Linked DNA regions of Homo sapiens: region 2 is linked to region 1. The links are contacts of gene promoters, found by promoter capture Hi-C in human tissues and cell types (Jung and others, 2019). All regions are on one chromosome and are shown on one strand. The core of a region is centred on a gene start or on the middle of the fragment in contact, and the rest is flanking DNA. Distances in the headings are between cores, read along the strand shown. Region 1 holds the start of CST3 (cystatin C). Region 2 overlaps NAPB (NSF attachment protein beta).

What was found. Contacts are between HindIII fragments. The study calls those that stand out against the background at their distance.
Region 2: a fragment that was not itself captured here is called in contact with the fragment with the promoter of CST3 in region 1 in 2 of the 25 tissues and cell types used here (adrenal gland and dorsolateral prefrontal cortex).

The regions. Positions count from the first base shown.
Region 1 is chr20:23,635,619-23,639,810 of GRCh38, forward strand. It overlaps CST3 (cystatin C), which reads right to left and starts at 2,337. Exons shown (of 3, transcript NM_000099.4): 1 at 2,002-2,337. The coding sequence starts at 2,244. RefSeq lists silencers at 1,872-2,121, 2,152-2,491. The HindIII fragment of the contact is 14,575 bases long and covers 1-4,192 here.
Region 2 is chr20:23,413,866-23,417,954 of GRCh38, forward strand. All of the region lies in intron 1 of NAPB (NSF attachment protein beta), which reads right to left. Among named protein-coding and RNA genes, the nearest start is that of NAPB, 5.6 kb to the right of the region's middle. The HindIII fragment of the contact is 6,970 bases long and covers 1-4,089 here.

The DNA of each region.
Region 1 (4,192 bases), core at 1,087-3,586:
CTATGACCCAGGGGGCAGGGACACTGGATCTATTCTAGGAAGGTTCTCATGTGATGATGAAATTTCGGCAAACTTCCAGTTCCTGGCATTCAGTCCACAGAGCATCTCATTCCTGCCATTTAACCCAGAGGTATTTTTCCTCATTTCTCACTAGGAGATGAGATGCTCACATACATTGATGTTTTAGGCCAATAAACATTGCTTCCCACGTGCTTCCATTCCAGGTGTGATTTTCAAGGCAATATTTCTAAAGTGAGTCACACACCTGCATGTCTTAGGGTTGCAACTTCAGAAGAGAACTGAATGCTTTCCCTGCACAGTGCCGCCCCAAAACATGACTTGTCAGAACTGTGGAGAAGCATGGGATGAGGGACCCTGGGACCAGGGTGCTAGACCTTGCCCTGTGGAACCACACACAAGTCCTGTAGAAGCACAAGCAAGGCCTGTGATCCCTCTGGTGTCAGTCTGCTCCTCTGTAAAATAGGCTCCAGGGCCCAACGATCTACAATGCCCCATGCTTCACTCCCAGTGAGAGAGAGGTGCAGGCCAGCGGGGACCCTACACCAGGGAATGGCCCTCCTGTGCAGGGAGAGGGCCCCAGCTGACGGCTGCGGGAGAAACGCGGCTGGTCTGGACTCCTCTGAATTTCCAAGAGAAGGTGGAGGAGCTCTAAAGTCTGTGTCACTGTTCGCTGCTCTGCCATGGGATGCAGGTCAAGCTGGGCCTGGTAGCCCTACTGAAGCTCCCTCCCGATCCGACCCCCTACTCCGGTCTGCTGGGTGTCTTCATCTGGCTGAGGTCTAACTCTGCATCAGCTGATAGAGGCAGGGTCAGGCATGCTCCACCCCAGCAGGGACTCAGCTGCCCTGGGATGTAGGGGGTGGTCAGCCGGCCTGAGGGTGAAGGCCGCTAGTCCTAGGGGACTGTGCCCAGGGGTGTGACTTGGGGAGGGAAGCAGGGCTCTGCAGGACAAGGTGCCAGGCTCACGTGTGGCCCCTGCGGAGAGTATTCTGGGAGGAGGATGAGCCGCATGGCCTAGATCTCATCTTGAGCAGCATCAAGCCCACCCAGAGTCAGCATAGTCTCCATCCACACCTGCTAGACCCTGGGAAATGGCACGGTCGTGGCACAGACCCAGCTGCTGCTGCAGGTTAAAAGAGGCCGAGGGGACAGGACAGGGCTGAACTCATGCACTCATGGCCCAGGAGCGTCCTAGGGCACGAAGGCCGTCAACAGACAGGGAAAGCTGAATGAGTCTGAGCATTAGATCATGAATGTGTCAGTGCTGATTTTCAAAATGGAATAGTGATTATGTGCGATATTGCCCTTGTTTTTAGGAAAAACACACTGAAGTGTTTACTTTCAAAAGATTCAGGCAAAAAATGCATATACAGTACATATACACACACCCATATTCACATTCGGAAAGTGAGCTGGGGGGAACAAACAGGGCAAAATGTTAACATCTGTGCTAACATCTGAGGGATCTGGGTGAAAGATCTACAGGGATGCCCTGTGCTATTTTGCAGCTGCTCTGTAAGTCTGAAATTACGGGAGAATAAAAAGTTAAAAGAAACAAAAGTGCTTAAAAATTATTTGGTGGAAGAACAAGGAGGCAGCCAGATGAGGGGCTCTGTTTTTCCTTCTCCTGCGTATTCAGCAGCGCACCCGGAGCCCAGCGTCCCAGGAGGTCGGGACAGAGCTGTGTGGGACGTCCTGTGCCTGCCCCCGCGCTGCGGCGCAGCTCGAGCTGGCTCCTGGAAGCTGATCTTAGGCGCCGGGCGCGGACCTGACGTGTCCGTGCGGTTCCAGGCCAGGCCAGACTCAGGGCATTCCCGGACACGCCCGCCAAGGGCTCGGGGGTGACAGCGAAGACCGGGAACAGGGTCCGGGTGAGAAGCCCAGGCGCCGGAGAGGAGCAGCACGGGGTCCGGGAGCAGCGCGGGGGGAGGCTGGGACGGCGGGGCCGGGGCTTCGGACCCTGCGGGGGGCGGCACGCACCTGCTTGCGGGCGCGCACCACCTGCAGCGCGCGGCTGTGGTACATGTCGTTGCTGGCTTTGTTGTACTCGCCGACGGCAAAGTCCAGTGCACGCCGCACACCCTCCTCCTCCACGCTGGCGTCCATGGGGCCTCCCACTAGGCGCGGCGGCTTGCCGGGACTGGAGCCGGCCGCGGGGCTCACGGCCAGGGCCACGGCCAGGATGGCCAGCAGGAGCAGCGGGGCGCGCAGGGGCCCGGCCATGGTCGGCTAGGACGCGGGACGCGGGGAGTGGGGCGCAGGCGAGAGGCTGGAGCTAGATAGAGAGGACCCGCTGCGATACCGAGGCGAGGCCGTGAGCCCCGCGAGGCCGGCGACTGCGGTTTTATCCCTTCCGGCCTTCGCCGCCCCACCCCACCGCGGCCTGCACTCCCTTTTCCGGAACGCCTCGTCCCTCCCACCTCCCTTCTCCCTCCCCGCCTCCCCTGCCTCTCCCCGCCTCCCCTGCCTCTCCCCGCCTCCAGGTCCCTCCCTATCAGTCTCCTCCCATCCCAGCCTCCCCTGCCCCTCCAGGCTTCCCTGTCCTTCCCCATCCATCCCCTTCCCTCCCCTCCCAGCCCCTCCCGGCCTCTCCTCTCCCTTCCCGCCTCCCCTCTCCCTCCCCTCCTCCCCTGGCCCCCCAGTCTCCCTGGCCTTCCCTATCCATTCCCATCCATCCCCTCCCCTCCCCTCCCCCTCCTCTCCTACTGTCTTCCAGCCTCCCCTGCCTCTCCTATCCTCCCCATTCCTCCCCATCCATCCGACCATTCCCACCTCCCCACTTCGGGCCCCTCCATGCCGCCACTCTTCAGGCTCCTTCTCCTCTGTCCCTTTCCCCTTTCAACCCCCAGACACCGCCTCCCATGCCCCTCATCTCCCTCCTCCACTCCTGTCCTTGCTCCCACTTCGCCCCCACCCCAGCTCGGCCCCTCTTCATCGCCCCTCCCTCGTCCCGCCCCTCCTCTGTCTTCCCTTCCTACCCATTCCTGGCCTCTCCCTGTCCCTGTCCCTCCTATCCTCTTCTTTCCCCTCTTCTCACCCCACTCCTGGCCCCTCTTCCCCCACCCCTTCCACACCTATGCCCCCCTTCTACCCACTCCACCCCCTCAGCTCCATCTCTTCCCAAAGACCTGTCCCTCCTCCCAAGCTTAGGTCACCCTGCCCTCCAGAGAGGTGTCAAGGCCCCCTGGGCCCTAAAAGCATACGACCCCCTAGCTTCATTTCCTCAGAAAAGGGAAAGATAGAGGTCTCGGCCTTCCGGAGTCTTCAGAGGTCCTGAGTATCCGTGAGCATTTGGTCAAGGTCTAGAAATCACTAAGGCAGAGGTGTGATTCCAGAGGCCACAGGAGACTCAGGCCATGCCCTGTGCTAGGGAACTTTTCAAACAGAAGAATTAACCTTTATTTGAGTAAAAAACTCTGGGTTCTCCTTTCACAACTCATTATTCAGTAAACAGACTTTTCACCAGCTTCCCCCTGCACCAGGTAGTCTAGGAGCTAGAGACGGAGCCTGGGTGACCGAGCCATGGACACTACATTGCAGGGCTGCTGCCAGACAGAAATGTGACACGAACCCAGGAGCAATTTAAAACTTTCTGGGAGACACATTTCAAAAAGTAAAAAAGAAACAGGTGAAGGTAATGTTTATAATATTTCTTACTTAACCTAATATATCCAAAATATTATTTCAACACATAAGAAGAATCATTAATAACATAGGTTATTTTATTTTGGGTGTGTGTACTGAGTCTTTGAAATTCCCTGTGTATGTGGGTGTCAATTGTACTGGCCCCATTTCAAGCACCCTGTGGCCACATGTGGCTGGTGGCTGTGGCACTGCACAGCCCAGCATTAGGGTGTGTGGGAGGATGGCGAATAGTGATCAATAATTAATATCAGGAAATTAGTCTCTCTGTTGGAAGTGAGAGTATGGGATAGAGAGAGATGATGCCACTGGACCTGGTCAGGGAGGACTCTATGAGACTGGAAAGGTGAGAAGCCCTGCCTAGACAGGAAACAGCCCCAGGCAGCGGGAAGGGCCAGTGCAAAGGCCCTGAGGCGGGGCTGGGCATGCCTGCTCCAGGAAGAGGAAGCTCCTGGAGGGAGTGTGAGCAGGGAAGGGAACGATCTGGAGTCTCATGGTAACTGTGGGTGGGGCCGGGTGGAAGGTGCAG
Region 2 (4,089 bases), core at 421-2,920, 220 kb before region 1:
GTGGTATATTCTTAAATCTTCAAAGACCAGAGTCCAAAAAAAAAAAAAGAAAAACATCCACATTATTTTTAGGAGGCACCTGTAACAGCAATACTTCAAGCTGATAAAGTAAAGCTATATACAAATGAATTGTAGATAAAACAATCCTAAATCATGTATGTAAAAACAGAATCTAGGCCAGGCACAGTGGCTCATGCCTGTAATCCCAGCCCTGTGGGAGACCAACCAGGCAGATCATTTGAGCCCAGGAGTTTGAAACCAGCCTAGCCAATATGGTGAAACCCCATATCTAATAAAAATACAAAAATTAGCTGGGCATGGTGGCCTGTGCCTGTAATCCCAGCTGCTGAGGAGGCTGAGGTGGGAGGATCACTTAAGCCTGGGAGGCGGAGGTTGCAGTGAGTAATGAGCACATCACTGCACTCCAGCCTGGTCAACAAAGTGAGACCCTGTCGCAAAAAAATAAACAAATAAATAAAAATAAAAATGGAATCTACATTTAAAAATATATTATAATCCTGAGAGGTTTACTCCAGGAGTGCGAGGACAGTACAATACGAGGCCTCATATTTACTAATTAACATATAATAACTCTTAAGGAGAAAAATGTTTATCTCCGCAGATATTCAAAAAGGCCTTCAAAATACAACACTAATCCCTAATGAATACACGGACTAAAACTGGAATTGACAGACAAGTCCTCACCATGAAAAAATATACCTTAATTCAAGGAAGTATTGACTTATTAGATTTTGTTATTACTTATAAGTTCCACTTAAATACAGAAATAGTTAACATTCTGAAACTCTACTTCCAAGTTTCCTTACTGTGAACTTTATTAGTCACTGAAAATTCTTTGAAGGTACAAAAGCTTTACTGATTTTATAACCAATCAGATAAACACAATGTGAAAATCTAAGAAGAGTATATGAAGTCTGTAACTAGGGTGATTCTGTGTCCTCATTGCATAGATATGCTTGACTTGTACCCATTTTATTAGTATCTCAAAAATATCACAATTTGGACAATATATTCTCTTTGACTCCATAACTCACAAAAATAGAAAAATATATTAAAAAAATTTTAAGTATAATATTTTGATTAGCTTAATTATTCAGCATTAATTCATACATGAATTAAGATTTAAATATGCTGTTTATATATAAAAGGTAATAGAGATTGAGACATAACTAAGTAAAATGAGGAGGTAAAGGGGAAAATGTAAGACCATGTAAGTTATAATAAATTTTTCATCATTTTTAGCAAAATCAACAGATACTGTCTGAAAATCAAGATATCAGGAAGTAGAAGTGCTCTAAAATTATTTAGAAATATGGTGGTAACCATCAGAAAAACTAATGAGAAAGTTAAAAATGGTTGCTTCTTGGGAGTGAGATTACGTAAAAAGAAGACTCAGAGAACTTTACTTTTCAACTGAAAACTCTCTGCGCTGGGCACGGTGGCTCATGCCTGTAATTCCAGCACTTTGGGAGGCCGAGGTGGACGGATCATGAGGTCAGAAGTTCAAGACCAGCCTGGCCAACATGGTGAAACCCTGTCTCTACTAAAAATACAAAAATTAGCTGGGTGTGGTGGCACCCATCTGTAATCCAAGCTACTCAGGAGACTGAGGCAGCAGAATCACTTGAACCCAGGAGGCAGAGGTTGCAGTGAGCCAAGATCATGCCACTGCACTCCAGCCTGGGCAACAGAGCAAGACTCCATTTCAAAAAAAAAGAAAACTCTCTGTACTCCTTGTACTTTTCTACCGTGTACAGCTACAATGTTCATAATAAGCAAATATTTAAATAAAATGCCTAGTACAGTGGCTAACACCTGTAATCGCAGCACTTTGGGAGGCTGAGGTCAGCAGAGCAGATCGCTTGAGTCCCGGAGTTGGAGACAAGCCTGGGCAACATAGCAAGACCCTGTCTCTACAAAAAATACAAAATTAGTCAGGCATGGTAGTGCATGCCTGTAGTCCTAGCTACTTGGGAGGCTGAGGTGGGAGGATCTCTTGAGCTCAGGAGGTCAAGGTTGAAGTGAGCAGATATCTCGCCACTGCCTTCCAGCCTAGGCAACAGAGTGAGAGCTCGTCTCAAAAAAATAAATACATAAATAAAACGGAAGAAAGCGACTTAAACTCTCCTTTACTTGGTATAGCTTTGCTCTTGAAAACTAGGTAAGAATAAAAGAAAAAACATCAGCATTTGTATTAGCATTAATACATTCATTCTCTCCACCAATATTTACCACGTGCCTAACGCATGCCTCAGGCTGGGTGAGGTGTTAGCCACAGCAACAAAACAGGCAGACTTCCAAGGAGCCACATATGATTACTGGCCCTCCCTCTCTCCAGAGTAACTGCACCTCACAGAGCTCACAAGAATGAAAGAATATGTGGAGAAAACTGCAAAAATGCAACAAGAAAAAGGCCAGTCTGGTAACAGTTTATCATTTGATACCAAGCTGTAACAACCTAAAATCAGAAAACCAAACAATTATAATAAAGTTATATAGCTCTGTGCAACTGAATAAGCATTCTGACCTCATTCAATCCTTAACAATCGTGAAAAACAGATTCTGTCTCTCTGCCCATCTGAAAACTAAAAAAAACAAGTTCTGAGTATGATTTACTTGACTATAGTCACCAAAATAGTAAATGAGAGAACTTGAGCCTCTACCTGGTCTCCCCATGAATAATAATATAATTATATTTCTTACGTATATTATATAATTTATAAAAATAATTGTTCAATTTATAATCGATTTCTTTTGAGAAAGATACACAAATATACGTATATATTTCTTATACTGTATCACCTGTCTCTGTCAGTAAACCTGAGCCTAATAATTTTTTTAAAAGTTCAATCTGCATTTGAACAAGAATTGTAACTGAGGAAAACCTAAATGCTTCACCTATGTTATCACATGGCCCCACCATATTTTGGCCAAACTTAAAAGCAATCTTTGTTGAAATAAACACAAGTGAAGAATACTGATAATTTACAGTCTACAATGCTTAAGAAATATTCACAATTTTCACAAACAACCAACAAATTATAGATTCATAATTATTTCAAGATAACCCAATGGGGCCTTTCATTAAATTTACATTGACATTGCCAAATTTGTAGCTCTTGTGTAAACTCAGACTAAACACTGAAAGGCAAAGGAAGACAGCATTAACCATAAAGAACATCTTTCCACTGGCATTCTTTTTTTTTTTTTTTTTTGAGACGGAGTCTCGCTCGGGGGCCCAGGCTGGAGTGCAGTGGCACAATCTCAGCTCACTACAACCTCCACCTCCAAGGTTCAAGTGATTCTCCTGCCTCAGCCTACCAAGTAGCTGGTATTACAGGCGCCCGCCACCACGCCAGGCTAATTTTTGTATTTTTAGTAGAGACGGGGTTTCATCATGTTGGCTAGGCTGGTCTCAAACTCCTGACCTCAAGTGATCCACCCGCCTCGGCCTCCCAGAGTGCTGGGATTACAGGCGTGAGCCACTGCACCTGGCCTCCACTGTCAGTCTTAAGCACTTTCTTCTATGTGCATTGTGCAGGTTATTCCCAACCGGGTCTCATAGCAACAAGATGGAGGGGATAGTATTATAAGAGGCTTTTCCAATTCAAAACTATCTTAATGTCAGACTCAGGCCGATTTAAAATCATACCAGTAGTTCATTAACATTATAAACTGGAATTTGAAATTAACTACAAAATTCCATAGCTCATCCCTGGCAACAAACTAAAGGACAAGACAACTCCTTTGGAAGTAGTTTTACTAAACGTACTATACTACAAACTTGAGAAAAAGTTTTAATTCCACAACTACAAAAGCACATTACTGCTTAACGGGCAATTAAGCAGAAACACAAACCACCACAACAGTGGTTTCCTGCAATGTTTGCATCCCTTGTCAGCTCTTTTCCTGGGGAGGAAGGTGGGGATGGGAAAGGAATATTGATACCTTACCTATCAAGCAGATAAGGCAGAGGATTTGTGCCTTACACAGAGAAGAAATATTTGACTGACATGTTCTCATAAATACATATGCATATTTTCATCTAATTTTACTGAAAGCAAGAAA